Regions from separate parts of the Homo sapiens genome. Here region 1 is linked to region 2. Evidence: promoter capture Hi-C in human tissues and cell types (Jung and others, 2019). All regions are on one chromosome and are shown on one strand. Each heading gives the region's core, a stretch centred on a gene start or on the middle of the fragment in contact. The rest is flanking DNA. Distances are from core to core; before and after follow the strand shown. Region 1 holds the start of NR2F6 (nuclear receptor subfamily 2 group F member 6). Region 2 holds the start of PLVAP (plasmalemma vesicle associated protein).

Region 1 (6,712 bases), core at 596-3,095, 130 kb before region 2:
CAGCCAGAGCAAAAGGGTTGAAATACACAAATATGGAGGCCTAAAGAGTTTCATTTTATTTGGTCACTGTCAGGCTGAGCAGGGTCATTGTCCCCAAAAAGATGTGAAGGCAAAGAGGACATGGTCAGAGAGCTGGACTTTGTGAATTAACTAGGGGTCAGGCCAGGGGCTAGTGGTCTGTGGGGTCATAGCATTGTGGGGCCCCAGCATTATCACCCGCACAATGCCCACCCCAAGGAATGAGGAAGTAAACAAAGTCACTCTGGTCCTCAGCCCTGAAGGCCCCACACCTACGCTCTTCCGAGAGGACCACCCAACCCCTATGCAAGCTGGAGATTTTCCTGGTCAGCCCTCAGTGAATGCCGTTGCCTCTTGCAGGGATGAGACAGGTGGCCCCACCCTGAGAGGTGGTGAGCTCCCCATCCTGGGTCAGCCCCCAAGCAGGAAGGTCCAGGCCTTATTCTTCAAATGTCCCCAGAACCTTCTCCCCTTGGCCCCTGCCCTTGGACTCCCCTGGTCTCTTGCCACCAGGAGCTGGGGGCTCTCCAAGGCCTGGGCCTGGAGCAACTACCCCTGGGGTTCCAGCTGGACACCCAGGGGACACACAGAGACAGTCACAGAGTAGAACCACCACTTAAGGGAATTAAACAGATGCATCTCTGCAGTGGCTCACGCCTGTAATCCCAGCACTTTGGGAGGCGGGGGAGGGTGGATCACCTGAGGTCAGTTCAAGACCAGCCTGGCCAACATGGTGAAACCCCGTCTCTACTAAAAATACAAAAATGAGCTGGGCGTGGTGGCGCATGCCTGTAATCCCAGCTACTTGGCAGGCTGAGGAAGGAGAATCGCTTGAACTGGGGAGGTGGAGGTTGCAGTGAGCCAAGATTGACCCACTGCATTCCAGCCAGGGTGACAGAGTGAGACTCTGTCTCAAAAAAAAAGAAAAAAAAAAAGGCTGGGTGCAGTGGCTCATGCCTGTAATCCCAGCACTTTGGGAGGCCGAGGCGGGCGGATCACCTGAGGTTGGGAGTTTGAGACCAGCCTGAACAACATAGAGAAAACCTGTCTCTACTAAAAATACAAAATTAGCCGGGCATGGTGGCGCATGCCTGTAATCCCAGCTATTTGGGAGGCTGAGGCAGGAGAACCGCTTGAACCCGGGAGGCAGAGGTTGCAGTGAGTTGAGATCACGCCATCGCACTCCAGCCTGGGCAACAAGAGTGAAACTCCGTCTCAAAAACAAAACAAAACAAAACAAAACAGATGAATCTCAGCTGCAGATACCCAGCCCTGCCCCTCAGGTGGCGACTGCCCCACTGAGCCTCGGTTTCCTCATCTGAAAATGGGAGGTCAGATATTGCCCTATCATATGGGATGGACTGGGTCAGAGGGGTTCACGGGGGACAGTGCCAAGACCCAGAGCCCAGCCGGAGAACCCAACTTAGGAAAGCTGAGGATCTGCGCCCACTCCCCCGTACCCCCCCTCCACCACTGCCTGGGTCCTGCAGCACCAGCCACTGAGCCCCTGGGAAGAGGCCCCACTAGGGCAGAGGGAGCTCAGGCAGAACCAGAACAAAGCCCAGCGGCTGGGTGGTGGGAGGGTCCAGGGCAGCCGGGTGGAAACGGCCTGGCCTGGGGCGGCCCTGCAGGCAGGCAGAGGCCCAGCTCAGGGGCCCCTGACCTCAGGGGAGGCCCTGAACCTTCAGTCTCAACTTCCCCAGCTGTGGAATTGGGACAGATCCATCCCTCCAAGGAGGGAAACAGTTAAGTTCTTCCTGTTATCCCACCTAAAGAGTGCAAGCTTTTTTGCCCAACCCCATGGCCCAACTCAGCTTCCTCCCTGGGCTTCTGGCCTCCAGTCCAATTTGATCAGAGCCCTCTCCTGCTCACACACCCTCTATGGCTCCCCATTACCCTCAGCCAGCATTTCAGGCCCACCTAGCTCTGACTTCTCCCATGGCTGCACAGTCCCCCTCTTACAGCACAGCTCCCCCAGTCTGCCACTAAGTGTTTTGTCTGGACCACATTCTGGCATGTCCCTGTGGCCTTTCTTCCACCTGCCAACTCCATGCTTCAAGGCTCATGTCCCCTAGCCTCCTCCAGGCAGCCCTCTCTGACCTCCAGGCAGAGCCTCTGCTCTCTCCCTGGGACCCCAGATCCCACAGACTTGGGGCATCTGTCTCACTGTGTCTCCTCCAGACTGGGGGCTTCTCAGGAGCTAGACTTGGAGCTGGGGTCTCTCTGGAGGGGCTGGCATCAAACTACCCAGGCTGGGCCCCAGCGAGACCCTGCTCAATCCATTTGAAGCTCAGAATGGAATGGTGATTTCACCAGGTCACACAACTGACACAGCACAAACCTGTCAGCTCCAAGCAAGGCCCCCCCCACCCAAAATTGCTGCTCCCTGACACCACCCTCAGGAAGCTCCTGGGACCCCAAAACTGCCTGAGCCCCCCTCCCTTACCCTCCCTAAAGATATGACCAGAGAGCAGGCGGTTTTCCAGCAGCAAGAATGAGGCCAAAGTCTAGTGGCCCACTTTGTGCTGGAGGAGGGAGCAAGGCAGCTCTGCCACACATGGCCACACCAGGCCAGCCCTGACCCGGGACCTGGGGCCAAACTCCACCCTCGGGTACCTGGGGCCCTATTTGGTGGCCTCAGCCAACAAGCCTTCCATCAGCCGTTCTCCCTGGGGCCACTCCGATCCGAACTCAGCGGTCCCCACCCTAGCCCCACAGTTCCCCCACAGTGCCCCCAACTCGGGCAGCGTCCCTCCATGTCCAACGCAAAGCAGGCACCAGGACCTCTCTCTGGGCCTTTGGGCCTCTGTTTTGGGCAGCTGGGAACTGAGACCGTCTAGACGGGCTCCACAGAGACCCTGCATGTTCCTGGGGTGCAGAGTAGGGGCTTATAAACGGACAGATCGGATGCTCGCCCGGGAACGGTGAGAAAAGAACTCCCGGGCTGGACAACCCCGATCGCTTTCCCTGGGGACCTTCCGCCAGAACAGCTAGCAAGGCCACGCCCTGCCAGAGAGGTCTCCGACCTGGGACAGCCCAAGGCTCCTGCTCGGAAACGTTTCACTCCCTGCCCGTCTCAGAGACACCCAAAGTTTGAGGGATTTTTCCAGGAGCCCCAGGTCTGCACCCACCCCTGGGGGAGAGGGACGTTTCAGTCAATTCCGGTGGCCCTGCCGGCCTTCCAGTGGCGATTTCCGGTGACCCAAGGCCCAGAGTGAGCCCAGAGGGGTTCCCTGAGATGGGCAAGCCCAGCTCCCACCCCCACCCCCACCGCTGGGCCCCTCATGCGAAGAAGGCCGCCCCGTGCCACCCCAGCCTCCCTCCGTCTGCCGCCTCCGTAGCCACAGCGACTTTGGAAGTGATATTTGACCCCAAGGGCGCGCCGTATCGATCCGCGCGGCCGCAGACAATGGCCCCTGGACGCTGCGAGCTCCACGGTCCAAGTTCCACGTTCGATTCCCTCGAGGGCATCCCGCGCGCCGGGATCCCCGAGAACGGGTGCCCTGGGGTTGGGTTACCACCCCTGACAGCACCCCTACCCCCACCCCAGCGCGGAGATGACCCCTCCCCAGAGAAAAAGCGGAGGGAAGGAGAAGCAAGTAACTGGGGCAAAAGCCTCCAGGGACCACCTGATGGGGGGGGAACCTGCAACGATGTAGCGCCGACTGTATACACAATCCCAGCCATGGAATGCGGGAGGAGGGTGCTGTGCCCCTATCTCAGAGGGGGCAGTGGAGGCCCAGGGAAGGTCAGCGCCAGGCCCAAGGTGACCGAGCAGGTCAGAGGCCTGCCCCAGGTCGGGGCGGGGTGCACGGCGGCGGCGCGCGGATGGGGGGCTCACCGGCAGGTGTAGCTGAGGTTGCGGCGGATGCTTCGCTTGAAAAAGCTCTTGCAGCCCTCGCAGGTGAAGACACCGTAATGCTTGCCGCTCGACTTGTCCCCGCACACCACGCAGTCCACCTGCAGCCCCGGCCGCTCCTCGTCGCCCGGCTCGGCGTCGCTGGCGGCACCGGGGGGCGAGGCCGAGTCGTCCTCGGCCGCGCGCGGGTAGCCGCCCGCCTTGTCCACGCCGTTCGTGTCGCCGCCGGGGCCGCCCCAGCCGCCGGTCACCATGGCCATAGCCCCAGGGCAGCGGGGCCGGGGCGCCCCCACCGCGCTCTTCCCTCCGGGCACCCCTCTCGGCCCGGGGGACCCTACGCGGCGCGCATTCGGCCCCGGCGCGCGGGGGGCACGGGCTGCACCCCCCAAAAAAGTTTTGCAGCAACTTCCTGCGGCCGGTCCTCGCGCCCGGGCGGAACTGGTCGGGCCGGTTCCAGGCCAACTTTCCCACGCGTGCGCGGGGCCGGGCCCGGGGCCGGGAGGGGCACGCTAGAGGCGCGGGCCGGGGGCCCAGAGGACTCGCGTCCCGCCGCCCTGGGGCCCCGGCGGGGGCGCGCGGGCCATGGCCCGGCCCGAGCCGCGCAGGGGGCGTCCTCTGGCCTGGCCGCCGCTCGCCCGGGGGCTGCGGCCAACTCAGCGGGCCGCCATCCGAGCGCGGGAGGCCGGGGGGAAAGTTTGGCCGCAAGTTGCGCGGCCGCCCGTGGCGGGGGGGGAGGGGCGGCGGGTGCGCGCCGGGGCTGATCGCCGCGCCCCCTGGGTCCCCCGGCGCCCGCGGCTGCCGCTCCGGGCCTGCAGGGCCGCTGGGCCGGCGCCTCTGGAGCTGCCGCCCCCGCTGCGGCCGCTCCTGCCTGGCCTGGGCCTGCGCCTGGGCCCAAGCCTCGCTCTCGCCGCCGCCACCGCCACCGACCCCGCGCGCCGGCCTCGCGCTGCGGCCGGTTTGACACACAGCGTTCCATTCGCGGGGCGGGCGGGGGGCGGGGGCGGGGGCAGGGGCGCGCGCCGCGGGCTGGGGGCGGGCGCTCGTTGCCCCGGCGACGGCCGCCCTTATAAGGGCATGGGTGGCCGCGCGCGGCGCCGGGCGAACGGGCCGGCGGGAGGGACGGGGGCCGAGCGCTGGGCCGCGGGGCCTGACCCTCCCCCGCCTCCCTCTGCCCCTCCCCCCGCACCCCCGCCCTCGCCCTCGCCCAGCTCGGGCCTTAACCCCTGCCGGGCCGCGGCGGGAGCCTCAGCCGCGCCTGCCCTCTGCCCTTCCTTGAGCCTCGCCAAGATGTCTCTCCAAGGCCCTCCCCTCCACCTCTGGCCTTGGACGTTGGGTCGCTCGATCACCCTCGAGGCGCCCCTCGGAACCTCTCCCCACCCCACAGTTCCTGGCAAAGCAATGATGGGGGGCCAGTGGCACCCGGGGGGGGGGTACGCCCCTGCGCAAGACACACGCGCGCGCGAGACAGACAGACACACACACACACACACACACACACACACACACACACACCCTAGATTGTGTTTGCTTCCTCTTCCAGAAAGTCGCCGCGTCTGACCCCCACCCCACCCTTTCTCTGCTCGGGTTAACACCTGGTGCCCGGAATCTCCAGGGGGAAGGGATGTTGTGGTCTGAGACCGGCTGGCCGGGGCCGCGAGGTCAGGGGGCCCCTCTGCAGAATTTCTGGCCTCCGGGGGCAGGGCGCCCACCCGCCCCGCGCGGCTGGAGGCGACAGGCATGCCCTGTCTGGGGGCCTGCCCCTTTTTCCCTTTTAATTTCCTTTTCTTTCTGTGCTTTGCAGAAAGGGCTTGGCCTGGCGGCCGGCTGGACTGCAGATGTCTCTTCCAGGCGCCCTGGAGCCTCGCAGCTGCCGCCACCTCCAACTCACCCCATCCCCCAGTACCGGGGCTGGGGCCCGCCCGACCAGCATTTATTAAGCACCCTTTGTATGCGAGGCCCGGGCTGGCGAGCCTCTGGCTCTGGGCAGGTTAACCTTTAACCGGCTGGACAAGCCCTTCCAGGAGTGACCTTTCACCTCGGAGTCTTGCAGCCCCAGCCACCCAGACTGTGGTCCCACCCCGCCCTGAGCCCAGAGCTGGACACCAGAGCATGCAGCTGGGCCTCTGAGAGCTCTGGCCAGGACAGTGCCTTCTGCGCACCCCCTCCTCTGCCTCCCAGAGCCCTGATGAGACTTGAAGAATTGCCCTCCCTGGAGTAGGGGGAAAGATTCTTAGAGATCTTACAACACTTAAAAAGAAACTGAGGTTCTGGGAGAGCCAGGCACACCCAGCCCTGGGCCTCTCAACCTGCTCCAGGGACGTTCTGGCTGCCTGGGAGGTGGAGGAGGAGGCGTTAGTAAACACGAAAAGCAGGAAGGACTAGGATTAGACATGAGCAAGGACTTCCCGAGGTCTAGAGTCGGGTTCTGCCCACAGCCTGATGTAATCCCTGCTGGGAGAGAGGAAGGCGTGGGTGGGCAGAGACGACCCTTTGGTTCTGAGGCTGCATGGGAATGTGACTGGTAATTTGGGATGAGGGCAGGGATCCTAGGCCCCTTGCCTGGACCTGCTAGGATCTTTGGTGGGGAGCATTGGGGTGGAGGTCTCAGAAGGGATTGAAAAGAGATTTAGATGAGAGACAGGCGCTGTGGCTCACGCCTGTAATCCCAACACTTTGGGAGGCCAAGTCAGGAGGATCTCTTGAGACCAGGAGTTCAAGACCAGCCGGGGCAATAAAGTGAGACCCGTCTTGAGCCCAGGTGTTCAAGGCTGCAGTGGGTTATAATCACGTCACGTCACTCCACTCCAGCGTGAGCAAGACCCTGTCTCAAAAAAA
Region 2 (6,810 bases), core at 1,325-3,824:
GGCATGTGCCACCATGCCTGACTAATTTTTGTATGTATGTATGTATGTATGTATGTATGTATTTATTTTTAGACAGAGTCTCCCTCTGTTGCCCAGGCTGGAGTGCAGTAGTGAGATCTCGGCTCACTGCAATCTCTGCCTCCCAGGTTCAAGTGATTCTCCTGCCTCAGCCTCCCGAGTAGCTGGGACTACAGGCACATACCACCATACCCGGCTAATAATTTTTGTATTTTTAGTACAGACGGGGTTTCACTAGGTTGGCCAGGCTGGTCTCAAATTTCTGACCTCAAGTGATCCACCCACCTTGGCCTCTCACAGTGCTGGGATTACAGGTGTTAGCCAGTATGCCTGGCCTAATTTTTGTACTTTTTGTACAGACAGGGTTTCACCATGTTGCCCAGGTTGGTCTCAAATTCCTGGACTCAGGTGGTCCTCCTGCCTCGGTCTCCCAAAGTGCTGGGATTACAGGTGTGAGCTACTGTAGCCGGTCTTCAGCCACTTATTTGCAGCTTGTGTGTGCTGGACCCCTTTGATTAGTGCTGGCACATTCTGGGAGCTTCATGCATAGTAAGTTATGGGCTCAGGACTGCCAATTAACACACAGGAGGAGAATTAAACTTGGATTCCAAAAAGACAATGAATATTATTTTCAAAATTATATCTCAAATATTGCATGGAATATACTTACAGTTTAAAAAAAATGTTGCTGGCTGGGAATGGTGGCTCATGCCTGTAATCTCAGCACTTTAGGAGGGTGAGCCTAGGAGTTCAAGACCAGCCTCAGCAGCATAGTGAGATTCTGTCTCTAAAAAAAAGTTAGCCAGGGCACCAGGTCAGGGCACGGTGGCTCATGCCTGTAATCCCAGCACTATGGGAGGCCGAGGTGGGTGGCTCACTTGAGGTCAGGAGTTTGAGACCAGCCTGGCAAACATGGTGAAACCCCGTCTCTACTAAAAATACAAAAATTAGCTGGCATGGTTGCACACGCCTGTAATCCCAGCTACTCAGGAGGCTGAGGCAGGAGAATCACTTGAACCTGGGAGGTGGAGGTTGCAGTGAGGCGAGATTGTGCCACTGCACTTCAGCCTGGGTGACAGAGCGAGACTCCGTCTCAAAAAAAAAAAAAAAAATTGCCAGGTGTGGTGGTGCCCACCTGTAATCTCAGCACTTTGGGAGGTCCAGGAGGGAGGATTGTTTGAGCCCAGGAGTTCAAGACCAGCCTGATCAACATAGCGAGACCCCACGTCTACTAAAAATAAAAAATGACCTGGGCATAGTGGCATGTCCATAGTGCCAGCTACTCAAAAGGCTGAGGCAGGAGGATTGCTGGAGCCCAGGATGTCAAGGCTTCAGTGAGCTATGCTCACATCACTGTGCTCCAGCCTGGGTGACAGAGTGAGACCCTGCCTCCAAAAAAAAGAAAAGAAATAAAAAAAATTTAGCTGGACGCAGTGCCCCACACCTGTAATCCCAGCAGTTTGGGAGGCTGGGGTGAGAGGATTGCTTGAGCCCAGGAGTTCGAGACTAGCCTGGGCAACATAGTGAGACCTCATCTCTGCTAAATATAAACATATTAGCTGGGTGTGGTGGTGCACGCCTGTAGTCCCAGCTACTCAGGAGGCTGAGGCAAGAGGATCACTTGAGTCCAGGAGATTGAGGTTGCAGTGAGCTGTGATAGCAATTGCACTCCATCCAGCCCAGGATACACATGGAGACCCTGTCTCTTAAGGAAAAAAAAAAAATCTATCGGCCGGGTGCAGTGGCTCACGCTTGTAATCCCAACAATTTGGGAGGCCAAGGCAGGCGTATCACTTGAGGTCAGGAGTTTGAGACCAGCCTGGCCAACATGGTGAAACCCCATCTCTACTAAAAATACAAAAATGAGCCGGTTATGATGGCACATGCCTGTAATCCCAGCTACTCGGGAGGCTGAGGCAGGAGAATCACTCCAACCCAGGAGGCAGAGGTTGCAGTGAGCCGAGATTGCACCACTGCACTCCAGCCTGGGAGACGGAGCGAGACTCTGTCTCATAAGAAAAGAGAGCATTGGTCCTGTGATCGTCCCCCTCTCTTGGATGAGGAAACTCAGGCTCAGAGAGGTGAGGGGGCTTGCTCAGGGTCCCCAGGGCGAGTGTCCTGCCCACAGCCTTACCCGGTCACCCTGGCACTGGCGGAAGCTGGCATTGATGCGGTCCAGGTCGCGGCGAGCATTCAGCCACATCTGCATGATGGCATCCTTGGCGCGGGTGGTGAAGTTGAGCTCCTTGGTCAAGTTGGACTGGGAGGCCGTGAGCCCTAGGAGCTGACTGTATAGGCCCTCGGCTCGGCGCTCGGTGGCCTGCAGGTTGGACTCTGTGCTCACGTGCACGTTGCCATAGACCATGAAGAGCACGAGCCCCAGGATGATGAGGAATTGGATGAGGGAGACGAAGAGGAAGAAGTAGCGCAGGTAATACCAGCAGCCCCGAGAGCTGCCCCCCGCCCGAGCGTAGGACCCTCCGTGCTCCATGGCCAGACCCATTTGCTCGATCCCGCCGTCCGGTGCACCGTCCCTGCTCACCACCAGGCCTGCTCTGGCCCCCGCCTCGCAGGGGGGAGTGCTTATATTACTCCTCTTAATACTTCCTCTGCCTGGCTCCTTCCTGGCCCGGAGGAAACGGGGGCTGCGGGTTATCACAACACTCCCACTCTGGCTGTGAGAAGGCGGGGGTGGGGCTGGGGGCCCAGAGCCAGGGCACCGGCTGGACCCCTCTGATTAATGCTGGGTGGGGCGCTGGCTGGCTGGTCAGGCATTCCTGGCCTCTTCGAGCCTCGCGTTCGCCTTTACTTGCTGGCGGGTGCTGTTCTCAGTACCTGCTGTGATTAGGTCGCTGAATCATGCCAGGTCTGTTGCTGTCTCCCTTGTGTGGCGGAGGAAACTGAGGCACAGGGAGGAGAAGGGGTTGCCTCGGGGTCTCACGCTGTTAGTTCAGCGAACTTGACTTACCTCAAGACAGGCTGGCTACAGACGTGCACCCACTTCACCAGGGCGGTGCTGATTAAGTGCCACAAAACGTGGGAAATGTGCCAGGCACGGTGGCTCACGCCTATAATCCCAGCACTTTGGGAGGCTGAGGCGGACGGATCACCTGAGGTCAGAAGTTTGAGACCAACCCGGTCACCGTGGTGAAACCCCCCGTCTCTACTAAAAATACAAAACTTAGCCAGGTGTGGTGGTGCTCGCCTGTAATTCCAGCTACCCAGGAGGCTGAGGCAGGAGAATCGCTTGAACCCAGGAGTCGGAGGTTGCGGTGAGCAGAGATCGTGCCATTGCACTCCAGCCTGGGGTATAGAGCAAGACTCTGTTTCAAAAAAAAAAAAAAACAGAAAAAGTGTGAAACTCTTAGCTAGCCTAGGGATGGAGAAGCAGTAGGTGATTAGTAATTGCATAGGAGGGCGTCACGGAGGGCTGAGCCATGGATGGCGGTGGCGCTGGCTCCCCAAGCTCTGTCATTGCCCCCAGTGCCCTGTTCACTTAGATGCTCAGTAAATGCTCCAGGAAACTGCAGCACAAGGAATAATGAACTTGGAGCGGGGAAGAGCTGGCTTTGTCCCGGGAGAGCTCGGGCAAGAGGCCTCGCATGTCTGTGCCTCCCTTTTCCCCTTTGTGAGACGGGGTATACCCAGTGCCTCGTCACTCTGTGGCTGTTGTTATGATTAGGATCATTTCCTGCTGGAGGCACTGCTGGGGGCTCCGTGAGATGGTGAATGACAAGTGGTGGATACGTGGGACTGAGATTCCTCCCCCGACACTCAAAACCCCATGGGCGGCCGGGCATAGTGGCTCACACCTGTAATCTCAGCACTTTGTGAGGCTGAGGCAGGCGGATCACCTGAGGTCAGGAGTGCGAGACCAGCCTGGCCAATATGGTGAAACCCCATCTCCACTAAAAATACAAAAATTAGCCGTGTGTGGTGGCGAGCACCTGTAATCCCAGCTGCTTGGGAAGCTGAGGCAGGAGAACCACTTGAACCCGGGAGGCGGAGGTTGCAGTGAAGCGAGATCGGGCCACTGCACTCCATCCTGGGAGATAAGAGAGAAACTCTGTCTCAAAAACAAAAACAAACAAACCAAAAAAACCACGGGAGTTTTCTGGGGTCGCTGTGGGTCACCCCCCAGTTGGGCCTGGAGGGGATTTGGGGACCCGGAAGCAAAGGATTCTGTGTGTCCTGCCTATCTCCCAGGATCAGGAGCTCCAGGGAAACCCTCCCTGGAGTCCCTTCTTTGTTTGCTCCATGCTGGGTGATGCCAGGGCCCCCCAAGAGGTGTCAGTCCCAACCTCAGCCACAAGCAACTCCCAGTCTTGGGAGACAGACTGGGACAGGTACCCCCCACCCTGTGGAGTCAGGGTGGGCTGGAGGAACAGGAGCAGGGAGCCGGAAAGGAGGCTGGACTCCGGACAGGTGACAATCATGCAATTGCTGTCCTCTGTAGGGCAATGTGAAGGCTGGGGCGTGGGGACCCGTCCCCCCATTAGCCAGGGTAACAGAGTGGGGAGGGGTCGTTGACAGAGCGGAGGGGTACTCCAGGGTGGTGCTCAGTGAGGCGAGTGTAGAGTTGAGAAGAAGGAAGTTCCCAGGGGTGGGCAGGAAACCCATGTCTGACCTTTGACCTTTGCAGCTACCCGGTGGTTCCTGATCCTGATTCCGGACCCTTCCCAGCGGCGTCGTCGGCGGCTGCTAGTGGGGGAAGGAGGGCTGGGGGCTGCCACGGGTGCCCAACCAGCCATTTCTCTGGGTTGGCCAGACCCACCCAGAGCCCCCCAGAGCTGGGCAGGAGGAGAACATCCTCCGTAATGGGGGCAATGTAGTCTGAGTGAACCCAGCATTACAGTTTAGAGTTCTGGAGTTGAGTTCTGACTGTGCCACCTACCAGCTTTGTGGCCTTGGAGAAGTGACTTTCCCTCCCTGGGCCTCAGTTTTCTCCTGTCCGAAGTGGAGATAGCCAGGTGCAGTGGCTCACACCTGTAATCCCAGCAGTTAGGGAGGCAGAGGTGGGAGAATCGTTGGAGCCCACAAGTTCAAGACCCTGTTCTAAAAAAAAAAAAACCCAAAAAACAAAAACAAAACAAAAATCAAGTGAAGACAACATAGCCAGTTTTTTTTGTTTTTTTTTTTTGTTTTTTTTTTTTTTTTTTGAGATGGAGTCTGGCACTGTTCCCCAGGCTGGAGTGCAGTGGCACTATCTTGGCTCACCACAGCCTCTGCCTCCTGGGTTCAAGGGATTCTCCTGCCTCAGCCTCCTGAGTAGCTGGGACTACAGGCACGCGCCAGCATGCCTGGCTAATTTTTTGTATTTTTAGTAGAGACAGGGTTTCACCAGGCTGGTCTCAAACTCCTGACCTCGTGATCCGCCTGCGTCGGCCTCCCAAAGTGCTCGGATTACAGGCGTGAGCTACCTCACCTGGCCAACAACATAGCCAGTTTTGAAGTACTTGACGTCATGCCTGGAACATACTCAGTCTTAATAAATGATGGCCTTTTTTTTTTGAGACAGAGTCTTGCTCTATTGCTCAGGATGGAGTGCAGTGGTGCGATCTCGGCTCACTGCAACCTCTGCCTCCAGAGTTCAAGCAATTCTCCTGCCTCAGCCTCCCAAGTAGCTGGGATTACAGATGTGCAGCACTACTGCTCAGCTAATTTTTGTATTTTTAGTAGAGACGGGGTTCCACCATGTTGACCAGGCTGGTCACAAACTCCTGACCTCAGGTGATCCACCTGCCTTGGACTCCCAAAGTGCTGAGATTACAGAATGAACCACCGCACCGGGCAATGATGGCATTTTTTAAGATGTGAGGGCTGGATCATGCCTGGCCTCTGATGTCAGGCTGAGGAACTCAGACATAGGGGAGGGGCAGTATTCCCAGCTGCCGGTGCCCCAGGCCTGTGAGAGCACTGGGGAAAGGAGAGCATGATGGGGATGAAGTGTGGGTGACCAGGGTCCAGCAGAGGAGCTGAGGCTGGGTGCAGTGTCTGGGCCAATGCCAGTAGATGTGGGTCTTGGTGTACACTTAAGATCTTGGCTGTTCTTCATTGTATATAGAAGATGTTGCATCTATGTATGTATGAATGTGATACCAGTTGACAAGGAAAAATAAAGGCAACCTCAAACTCCCAGAAAACAAAAAGCCCCCCGGACCTGATGGTACTGATGTGCCACAATTTTGAACAGTTGTCACCATGTGAGAAGCAGAGTTTTAAATATACATACCAATGTTATTTGTATCAAGCCCAAAAACAATATTTGGTGTCCTTTTCTAATTTGATCTCACACCTTTAATTTGTAATGTTTCTGTTTTGGATCATTTGTTATATTAGCTGATTTAACTTTGTAACTTTTTGTTTGTTTGTTTTGAGGCAGAGTTTTCTCTTGTCGTCCAGGCTGGCATGCAATGGCATGATCTTGGCTCACTGCAACCTCCACCTCTGGGTTCAAGTGATTCTCCTGCCTCAGCCTCCTGAGTAGCTGGGATTACAGGTGCACACCACCATGCCTAGCTAATTTTTTTTTTTTTTTTGGTATTTTTTAGTACAGATGGGCTTTCGCCATGTTGGCCAGGCTGGTGTCGAACTCCTGACCACAGGTGATCCACCCACCTCATCCTCCCAAATTGCTGGGATTACAGGCGTGAGCCACCACGCCAGGCCTGATTTTTTTTTTTTTTTTTTTTTTTTTTTTTTTTTTTTTTTTTTTAGCAAAAAGGGTAGGCTGGGGGTCGTGGCTCACACCTGTAATCCCAGCACTTTGGGAGGTCGAGGCGGGTAGATCAC

The links. Contacts are between HindIII fragments. The study calls those that stand out against the background at their distance.
Region 1: a fragment that was not itself captured here is called in contact with the fragment with the promoter of PLVAP in region 2 in 2 of the 25 tissues and cell types used here (dorsolateral prefrontal cortex and spleen).

What each region holds. Positions count from the first base shown.
Region 1 is chr19:17,241,084-17,247,795 of GRCh38, forward strand. NR2F6 (nuclear receptor subfamily 2 group F member 6) reads right to left here and starts at 4,836. Exons shown (of 4, transcript NM_005234.4): 1 at 3,860-4,836. The coding sequence starts at 4,137. RefSeq lists silencers at 4,187-4,256, 4,267-4,426, 4,827-5,076, 5,477-5,556 and an enhancer at 4,820-5,769. The HindIII fragment of the contact is 5,712 bases long and covers 1-4,701 here.
Region 2 is chr19:17,374,768-17,381,577 of GRCh38, forward strand. PLVAP (plasmalemma vesicle associated protein) reads right to left here and starts at 2,575. Exons shown (of 6, transcript NM_031310.3): 1 at 2,153-2,575. The coding sequence starts at 2,521. It overlaps LOC105372298 (a long non-coding RNA gene), which reads right to left and starts at 5,005. Exons shown (of 3, transcript XR_936362.3): 1 at 4,913-5,005; 2 at 4,646-4,719; 3 at 4,023-4,063. RefSeq lists an enhancer at 4,393-5,281. The HindIII fragment of the contact is 34,336 bases long and covers 1-6,810 here.